2 separate regions of the Homo sapiens genome follow, and region 1 is linked to region 2. The links are contacts of gene promoters, found by promoter capture Hi-C in blood cells and fetal thymus (Javierre and others, 2016). All regions are on one chromosome and are shown on one strand. Each heading gives the region's core, a stretch centred on a gene start or on the middle of the fragment in contact. The rest is flanking DNA. Distances are from core to core; before and after follow the strand shown. Region 1 has its middle 110 kb from the start of ANK1. Region 2 holds the start of PLAT (plasminogen activator, tissue type).

What was found. The method cuts DNA at HindIII sites, captures the fragments that hold promoters and counts their contacts. A CHiCAGO score of 5 or more calls a contact.
Region 1: a fragment that was not itself captured here is called in contact with the fragment with the promoter of PLAT in region 2 in 1 of 17 cell types (neutrophils); the score reaches 5.0 in neutrophils.

The regions. Positions count from the first base shown.
Region 1 is chr8:41,901,017-41,906,210 of GRCh38, reverse strand. No RefSeq gene overlaps it. Among named protein-coding and RNA genes, the nearest start is that of ANK1, 110 kb to the right of the region's middle. RefSeq lists a silencer at 4,296-4,482. The HindIII fragment of the contact is 4,420 bases long and covers 1-4,189 here.
Region 2 is chr8:42,204,137-42,209,026 of GRCh38, reverse strand. PLAT (plasminogen activator, tissue type) reads left to right here and starts at 1,462. Exons shown (of 14, transcript NM_000930.5): 1 at 1,462-1,533. RefSeq lists enhancers at 1-442, 443-961. The HindIII fragment of the contact is 29,641 bases long and covers 1-4,890 here.

The DNA of each region.
Region 1 (5,194 bases), core at 730-3,229, 300 kb after region 2:
GGACACAGGGACAGACGCATCAAGGGAATCTGATGGGGAGATGCAGGGAGAAGACACAGGCTTCCATCTCCAAGCCAAGGAGCACCTGAGCCATGAGGAGCAAGCAGGGAGGCCTGGGACAGATGCTCCCTTGCAGTGGTGAGGAGTGACCTTGACCTTGACTTCCAGCCTCCACGCCTGGGAGACATCTCCGTTGTCCTCCCCCCGACTCCCTGACAGGCTGCCACAGCAAGGGGTGAGGTGTGTGGGGAGGTTTAGGAGGTGAGGCGGCCGCCCTACAGTGACACACAGAGACAGGGGGTTTGGCTGATGGGGTTACCAAACAAAGGAGACTCTCAGCCCAACGTGCAAGAAGCCAGTGCTCTGACACTGGGCTTTTGAGAAAAGAAAGTTTTGATTGCTGGTGGGCTAACAAGGAGACAGGAGTCCAGCTCACATCTGTCTCCCTGTGCTGGCTTTAAGGCAGGAATTTTATTAGAAAAGGTTTAGGAGTGGATTCTGGGATTAGTAGGTGATTGGTGGAGTTTTGAAAAAGGAGGTCTGGAAAGTTCTTGCACCCGTGCAGTTGTCTCTTCATGCCTCCTCATGGGTCCCATGTGCAAATTCTGGGGAAGTTAGTGTGACATATGCAGTAGAAATTCAGGCTATGACAATTAGCAGGCGGGCTCTGTGCAGACTTAGTTGGCCATATTGGTTCCAACCAATTGCAGCCGGTTTTAAAATCTCATAAGCAGAGGGAGTTTCAGTGTTTCCGGAAGTTGTCTTTTCTTATCTGCTATCCTGAAAACTCAAGCATTTCTATTAGTCATTAGGTTTTTTTTTCTAAGCTCTGGGGCACGGTTTCAGTGGGTGACAGCCAAAGCCCAGGGGACAACAGTGGAGGGCCCGGGGGAGGGGCAGTGGCCGTGGAGCGAGAGGGGAGTGATGTCTGAGGTGAGCCGGTGGACGCCAGTGTCCATGTGCAGCACAGACACGTGGCTTGGAAGATGGGACTTAGGCACCAATGATGGCTCTATGTAAGGCCGGGCCTGCAGACTCACCCTGGTGGGGAGGGACGTCCCTCAGAAGCGACTGGAAGGAAACTGGCATGGAAAGGGAATGTGGAGGAGCTCATGGGTGGAGTGGGATTAGGAAAATACCACTGCGAAATAATAAGAAATATGTACATTGTTATCTGGCTCTGGTTTCTGACATACAGCTCCTAATACTGCTGTAGAAAGGGGTGCTGGAAGAATCTTTTGTTCTAATATTTGCCCTTTGACCCTGGTTCCTGACACAGAGCTCCTAATCCCTTGGGAGTTCCTAGGTGATCGGAGCATCTTTTGTTCTAATGAGGTGACTCTTGGTGGGCTCTGGATGGCATCAGGATGGGCTGGTTGCCAGTGTGCTAAAGGTCAAAACCAAAAAAGGTTGCCTTTTTTGGAGGGGCACTGACAGGGGAGGTAAGAGAGAGCACATGGGGAGCTGGAAATGTGGGCTTGGGCTGGGGGTGCTCACAGAGGCACGTGTGTAAATTGTATACATGGGCTGGGTATGGTGGCTCACGCATGTAATCCCAGCACTTTGGGAGCTGAGGCAGGCAGATCACCTGAGGTCAGGAGCTCAAGACCAACCTGGCCAACATGGTGAAACTCCATCTCTACTAAAAATACAAAAATTAGTCCAGTGTGATGGTGGGTACCTGTAATCCCAGCTACTGGGGAGGCTGAGGCAGAAGAATCGCTTGAACCCAGAAGGCAGAGGTTGCAGTGAGCAAAGATTGAGCCACTGCACTCCAGCCTGGGCAACAGAGCAAGACTCCATCTAAAAAAGAAATTAATTAAATTAAATTAAAATAAATAAATAGTATACACGCAGGGGAGAGGACCATGAGCCGTGGCTGCAATCTATCCATAGCAGTTGAATCAGAGTCCGAATTTTCATAAGATCCTTAGGTGATGTGAGTGCATGTGCAAATTTGAGAACTGGTTTTGAAGAAAGCCTCTGAAATCTAGTGAGTAAGAAGACTGGGGGCTGTAAAGGAGAGGAAGGGGGGCTCTCTGGGAAGCCCAGGTTTCTGCCTGGGTTAACTGGGGATTGAGGAGCCAGGAGGTGACTTCTGATGGTACACTGGGCAGACTTCTTGCCTCAGTCTTCTGAGAGAGGTCAAAGCTGGAGTTATAGATCCAGGCATGTGGGTGGTAGTGGAAGCCAAGGCTAAGATCATAGAGGAAGAAGGTATAAACTGAAAAAGAGCCCAGGCAGAAGTTTTTATTAGTGAGTCCTGTAGAAAGCATTCAGGAGCTGGGAGGAGAGCAGGGAGAGTGGGGTCTCAGGAACCGGGGAGATACACCACCAGGTCAAAAGGTCCAGGGAGTCAGATCCAAGTGCGTCCGTAGGTTCCGTGGTGGCAAGAGAATTTGGAGTGCAGTAGGGCTGCACCCGGAAGTAACAGGCTGGAGGAGCTGGTGACAGGCACACCATGGGGACGCAGTGAGAGCAGAGCTCTCTGGCAGCCCGGTTTTTCTGAGGAGGTGAGAAGGAGTGGGGTCCAAAGACGTCAACAAGGGGTGGATGCAGACACATTTCAATGGTGCAGAAGGGAGGGCACTGAGCACATGCAGCCCAGGGTTTCCATTTCCCCTCCGGAGTGGAAGGCACTGTCACCACGGAGGAGTGAGGTGGTGGCCACCTTGGGTGGGAGAGTGCAGAGGAGGGAGCAGTAGGGGCCTCACCCACACGCAGGCCTGAGGACCCAGCCAGCCAACGCTGAACTTTCAAGTCAGCGTCCCCTCCCCTCCCCTCCCCTCCCTTCCCCTCCCCTCCCCTCCCCTCCTCTCCCCTCCTCTCCCCTCCTCTCCCCTCCCCTCCTCTCCCCTCCCCTCCCCTCCTCTCCCTTCCTTCTCTCTCATTCTTTTTTTTTTTTTTTTTGAGACAGAGTCTCTGTCTGTCACCCAGGCTGGAGCGCAGTGGTACCATCTTGGATCATCGCAACCTCTGCCTCCTGGGTTCAAGCGATTCTCCTGCCTCAGCCTCCCAAGTAGCTGGGATTACAGGCATGCACCATCACACCCAGCTAATTTTTGTATTTTTTTAGTAGAGATGGGGTTTCACGATGTTAGTCAGGCTGGTCTCAAACTCCTGACCTTAGGTGATCCACCCGCCTCGGCCTCTCAAAATGCTGGGATTAGAGGCAGGAGCCACCACGCCCAGCCTTACTCCAGCATTTTCTACGAATCTGGATGTAAATCCTCTTCCTGCTTTGCTGTTTTCTCTGAACACCTTGACTTATAGGCTCTTTTATCTCTTCAAATTCCACCCTGGAAAATGCAATTATGAAAAGGACAGATTGCTGTCATCGGTAAACCTTGGACAGGAAATTAGGAATCTGTGAGCTCAATATTCACCTTTACTATGAACTCCTGACATTATCTTGGTCAAGCATAGGGAGGAGTGAAAGCTCTCCTCAAATATTTGAAGGGCTATCACACAGAAGCAGGGCTTGAATAATTTCAGTGTAGTAGCGCTGGATGGCAGAGCAGGGCTGGTGTGCACACACCCGGGGAGACGGCTTGAACCCAGTGGGAAACGGACAGCAGCTCTCCTGCGGAGTGATCTGGTCTGGGAATGTGAGAGTGAGCAGAAGAAGCCTCCCATTGGTTGGGAAATGCCAGGCAGTTCCTTCTCACTCTGCAATTCTAATTTTCCATTTGTCTTTCTGTTTTATCCTCTATATTCGTGGCTCCTGGATAACCTCTTCTGAATCAAACTTGACCTGAACACCTATAGGGTATGGCACTGGACTGGATGGCTGAGACCCCACAGCCATCTGCCCTCAGAGGAGTCAGGACTGGTAGACACTGGTTGGCTCCTTCTTTCCTAAAAGGGATTAATGGTACATGGACAGAACCTTCCAGGCCCACGCTCAATTTAGGATGTTTGTCCTAAGTAGCAGTAAAAGTACAGTCTCTAAAGATTGACTGTTTTGTTTCAAATCTGAGGTCCATGGCTTAGTAGCCATTGATCTTGATCAAGTTATTCATTCTCTCTGTGCCTCAGTTTCTTAACTGTAAAATGGTGATGACAATGGCATCTGCCTCATGGAGTTGTTCTTAGGGTTAAATACGCTTAGAAGAATGCCCAGTGCTCTCATTATGTTTTAGCTATTTATATTATTTAGTTCAAGAGGCAGCTTTTATCTTGGGAAGCTTTATTAATTATTAATAATGTTTCTTTTAAAAACACAAGTTGGTCTAGTTGCATAAATGCATACACTCAGGATGGGACTGGGAACCAGATGGAAATCTTAGGGAAGAAAGCAGCAAAGATATAAAAATGGACTCCATTCCCCTTCACTTAGCAGCTAAATAAAAAGGCCCCACTGAAATACAGAATTTCCTTGAGTAATAAGCATCCCTATATAAAAAAATGAAGAACTGGGGCTGTCTCCTGTGCTAGAGTTCGGACTCACTCCCCACACCACTTCCCTGCATGCTGAGTGACCAACTGTCCTCACCCATGGGGTAGTGACCCCCTTTGTGGGTGTGTGCCGGATTATGTGGCTCCCAAGAAATGACGAGAAGAGCCTGAGAATGAATGGTGGGAACCCAGCAGGGACACCTCAGTGAGGGGTGTGGCTGCAGTAGAGGAGGTGGCTCTCTGGGGACCACAGTGGGGCAGTCTTTTGTCTTGTCTCTTGATGCTGTGTGTGGGTCACTGTGGGTTCTGTTTCTATCACTTTGGAGGAATAGGTTGGCCCTTTGGTTGCCTGCCTGGGGATATTATTTTATGTGTCTAACTCAGGTTACTAATACTTCTACACTCAGGAGAACTGGCTGAGTCACTGTCAAAATCGGTCACCTGATGGTTCCTTTTAGGTCAGGCCTTGCATTAGGCAGCTTGGGCCTGAATTCTGACTCCGCTCCATCAGAATGTGACCTGGGGGAAGTCACTTAAACACAGACGGCCTGTCTTGGTCTGTTCATGTTGCTATAAAGGAATACCTGAGGCTGGGTCATTTATAAAGAAAAAATGTTTATTTGGCTCACAGTTCTACAGAAAGTGTGATGCCAACATCTGCATCTGGGGAAGGCCTCAGGCTGCTTCCAGTCATGGTGGGAGGGGAAGAAGAGCTGGCGTGTGAAGAGATCATACAGCGAGAGAGGAAGCAAGAGAGAGGGGAGGGGCCTGGCTCTTCCTAACAACCATTTCTAGT
Region 2 (4,890 bases), core at 213-2,712:
CCCCCAAAAAAGCCTCCATCCTCACCATCTTAGACCACATTGCAGGAAAGCAGCCCCATGCCCACCAGACAGGCCCACAGCTGCTGCTGCTCATGGGAGGTCTACCTCCCGTGCTCAGCAGGCAACCCACCCCAGTGCCCCTTTTCTACAATGACCATCAGCAGGGCTGCAGCTTCATAAAAATGTGAAAAACAGTTTGAAAGCAATGTGAAAAGCAGTTAGGTGCCTTTCAACTTCAAACTCAGCACTCATGGTTTGACAAATATGAGTATATTTAGGATCAGAATGTATGAAATCTGGCCTCTCCTGAATAGTCGGTCATCCCACAATTTCCTCTGCCAAACTTCTCTTCCCTCCCTGCGTTCTTTCTTTCACCTCTCTCTCATTTTTACAAGGTCTGGTCTCAGCCAGACATGAACCAATGATGATAGATGCTCCTGCTGAGCCCTGTGATGTGCCAGGGCCCTGACATGCGTGGCTTCTCTCTGATCCTCACGTGACCTGCAGATGCAAAAGCCAGAGCTCAGCATAGTTGAAAATCTTGATTGAGGTCATATCCCAGTTACTGGCACAGCCGGATTTAAACCTAAGACTTTCCCCTACACGACAGGGCTTTTATTTCTCAGTCATCTGAAAAGGTGTCAGCAAGGGAAATGGCTTGTCTATTTCCAGGGGCATTTTACAAGCAAATACTGAAAGGCTTCGGTGGGCTTAAGGGCTGATGGCTTTGATCGAATTTCAGGCATGTTGGCCCCAAGGCCCTGTGTATATTCCCTGGGCCCACTCAAGGGGATGCTGGAGCCGGAAAGTCCCCGGAGGCCACCTACTGCAGCCCTGCACTTTACAAAGAAGAGAAAGATTCTCCCTAAAATTACAGAACAGGGCCAAAGATGCCTACCGGAGCAAACCCCCATGGGGGCACCTCCTACCGCAGGTGAGCCCAAGGCTGGTCCTGCCTTCTCAGTGGCTACCCCCCTGAGCTCCCGCCACCACACAAAGTGTTCCAATCCTTGTGCATCCTCCAGTCCTTTTAACCTCTCATGTCCTGAGAGGCCAGAGCTACAGCCACAGATTCCAGAAGACACCCCACTCCCAGCCCCAACCTGCTGCCTTTAGAATTATAAACACTTCTTGTCATCACAGGGTCCTGAAAGTCCCTTTTAAGCCTGGGACACTAGGACTCTAAAGGAAGATGATTCTTAAGGTCCCATCCCACTTCCAAATTCCTGCGATTCAATGACATCACGGCTGTGAATAATCAGCCTGGCCCGAAGCCAGGATGGGCTGTGCTGCTTCCACCGTGAACTTCCTCCCCCTGCTTTATAAAAACAGGCCTGCCTCAGCTCCCTCATGGCCCTGTCCACTGAGCATCCTCCCGCCACACAGAAACCCGCCCAGCCGGGGCCACCGACCCCACCCCCTGCCTGGAAACTTAAAGGAGGCCGGAGCTGTGGGGAGCTCAGAGCTGAGATCCTACAGGAGTCCAGGGCTGGAGAGAAAACCTCTGCGAGGAAAGGGAAGGAGCAAGCCGTGGTAGGTCGGGTTTCTGTACCTTGGGGTCTGTCTCCTCTTCTTTCTCTTAAAAGTCTTTCCAGCAAGCTGAGCCAGTGAAGGAATGCTTTAACCAAGGGACCAACTTTGTAATTCAGGCAACTAGAGGATCCGCTAGAATCCACTCCAGAGGGGAGATGTCTGTTTGCATTTGCATGTGATTGGGATAGGCTGGAGTGTTTTGGAGGGGAGAGGCAGTCGGGGAAAGGGAGACTAGGGAGGTTGCATTCATTGGAGAAGCCTCTGCTGACAGAGTAAAGGGGAAAGTGAAAAGAACGATACAGAAAAGCCCCAAATAGCCTATGGGAGTACCTCAAGACGAGCAAGCAATAAAAGCAAAATCGGCTGCCTTGGGACACGTGCCTGTGACAGCTGGGAGGGCCCGCTGGGTCCCCTAGTTTCCTCCCTCCCCCGATGAACCCCCAGAAAGGAACTGAGGCTGTGGATGGGGCAGAGGGGGACTTACTTCCAGAGCACTATTTGCTAGGTGCTGGGAGAGAGAAGCAGGTGGCTTTCACACCCCACATTACCCCGTGGGATAGAGAAATGCCTCTGATCTCCCTAGGTGCCACCCCTACAAGTCTCCACAGGTCAGTTTGGCCCTCTGGCTTTTTGCCCAGGGTGCATCAGTCAAGTGTGCAGTCCTCCTTAAAGGACATTTTAATTACAGGGGAAAAAACTGACATTAATGTCTTTTATTCCTAAAGCACTCTGCAGGAAGCATGTGGGGTTCTCCAGATTTTCACTGTTATTATCTTTATTTTCTTAACCTCACAGGGAGGGAGAGAGGAAGGGAGGGAGGGAAGACGAAAACACGCCGAGGTCCCAGGTAACTAATGACAACTCAAGCTCAAAGAAGTGTGGTAACAAGGATGTGTTTGGTGGCCAATTGGGAATAATATGGTGGTCTCCTGTAGCTGCTTGATGACAGAAAAAATGTCGTGTGTGTGTGTATGCGTGTGCATTGCAGTCCCGGGAAGGGGTCTTGCAAATACCATTGTCAGGTGGAGTCCCCTCAAAGGTGACTTCCTAGCAGTACTTGCTGTGGCAAGAACGCTCATTCTGGGATCTAGACTCAATCCATGACGGTCAGCATGAGCTGCTGGGTGCGTGCTTCCTGTGCAGGCAGAGTCGGACTCCAGCACTGGCAGGGACACTGTGAGTATTGAGATATGAATAGCTCCATCCTGCCCACCCATTTATTCCACCTAAAATGTTCTCAAAGATGCAAGCCTCCAAGCTCTGGATCAAATGATAAAGCCCCAGATCAAAATCTCAGGAGCAAATGAAAGCTGCCCTTGTCTCCAAAATGCTCCTTCTCTGCCCGACTCCCCAAGACCAGCTTGGTTTATTTCACAATGACTCGCGTCGGATTCTCCCAGTGTCTGCGGCTCCCCCTGCTTCATCACAGGCCTGGGACAGTCCAGGCAGCCAGGGAATAGCTGGGAATAGCAGTTCCCCTTTGTTGGTTTTTGAGTTCACTGAGGCTTTGATTTCCCCCAGGGCCTGACGTTGCTGAGCAGAGCCAGCGGCCAGTAGATTTCAAAGGATTCCAAAAAACAGTCAGGCACTCCTTTGTGAACCCAAAAGTATCTGAGACAGGTCTGTCAATTTAGAAAGTTTATTTTGCCAATGTTAAGAACACACATGTGACACGGCCTCTGGAGATCCTGAGGACATATGTCCAAGGTGGCCAAGGTATGGCTTGGTTTCATACATTTCAGGGAGACATGAGACATTAATCAATGTATGTAAGATGTGCACCGGTTCGGTCTGGAAAGGCAGGACAACTCGAAGTAGGGGCTTCCAGGTCATAGGTAGATAAGAGAAGGCTTCATTCTTCTGAGTCTTTGTCAGCCTTTCACTGAATACACAATTTACATATGAGAGGGGGGCAGAGGAAGAGTCACTTATGCCTTAGTTGGCTCAGTGAATCTACTTTTTTTTTTGAGACGGAGTTTCACTCTTTTTGCCCAGGCTAGAGTGCAATGGCATGATCCCGGCTACTGCAACCTCCACCTCCCAGGTTCAAGTGATTCTCCTGCCTCAGCCTTCTGAGTAACTGGGATTACAGGCGCCTGCCACCACACCTGGTTAATTTTTGTATTTTTAGTAGAGACAGGGTTTCACCATGTTGGCCAGACTGGTCTTGAACTCGTGACCTCAGGTGATCCACCCACCTCGGCCCCCCGAAGTGCTGGGATTACAGGCATGAGCCAACATGCCTGGCCTGAATCTTCATTTTTACAAAAACAATAGGGCAGAGGAAGCAATCAGATATGCGTTTGTCTCAGGTGAGCAGAGGGATGACTTTGAGTTCTGTCCTTTGTCCTGTACCCATTTGCATTGCCAAGGTGAAGTTCAGCAGAACTGTTTTAGGGTAAAGATCTTGAAGTCCACAAGGAGTTTCCTTGTGGGTAAATTGTGAGAGAGGTATGTAGCCTTTTATCTTTGTAGCCGTCTTATGTAGGAATAAAATGGGAGGCAGGTTTGCCTCATGCAGTTCCCAGCTTGGCTTTTCCCTTTGGCTTAGTGATTTGGGGGTCTTGAGATTTATTTTCCTTTCATACCTTGGTAGTGTCACTTGAAGCCACCACGCCCGGCTAATTTTTATATTTTTAGTAGAGACAGGGTTTCACCATGTTGATCAGGCTGGTCTCGAACTCCTGACCTCGTGATCTGCCCTCCTCCTCCAAAGTGCTGGGATTACAGGCATGAGCCACCATGCCCGGCCAATTTTTCTTTTCTTTTTTTTTTTTTTTAAGATGGAGTCTCGCTTTTTCACCAGGCTGGGGTGCAGTGGCACAATCTTGGCTCACTGCAACCTCCACCTCCCAGGTTCAAGCGATTTTCCTGCCTCAGCCTCCCAAATAGCTTGGATTACAGGCGCCCGCCACCACACCCAGCTAAGTTTTCACCATGTTGGCCAGGCTGGTCTTGAACACCTGACCTCAAGTGATCTGCCCGCCTTGGCCTCGCAAAGTATTGGGATTACAGGCGTGAGCCACCATGCCCAGACAGGTTTTTCTTTGATTATTTGGCATTATGCACCTGCAGTCTCAGAATAAATTTTTTACTTTCTCTGAGTGATTTTCGCTTCTGCTTTGATGAGATTGTTGGGACGGACAATAAGGGACCAGTGCATTCTGCTCATTCCTTCTTGGGGCCATTTCTTTTGTATATACGGGAGAAAATGTCTGTCTATAGTGTCAGGCTATAAACCTCGTCCTAGTCAAGCAGCTCACAAAACCATATGGTGGGTCTCACATCAAACCAGGTAAAAGAGTGAGGATGATTTAGACTCAAAGAAAATTAGAGCTAGAAATAAATTTAAAGCTC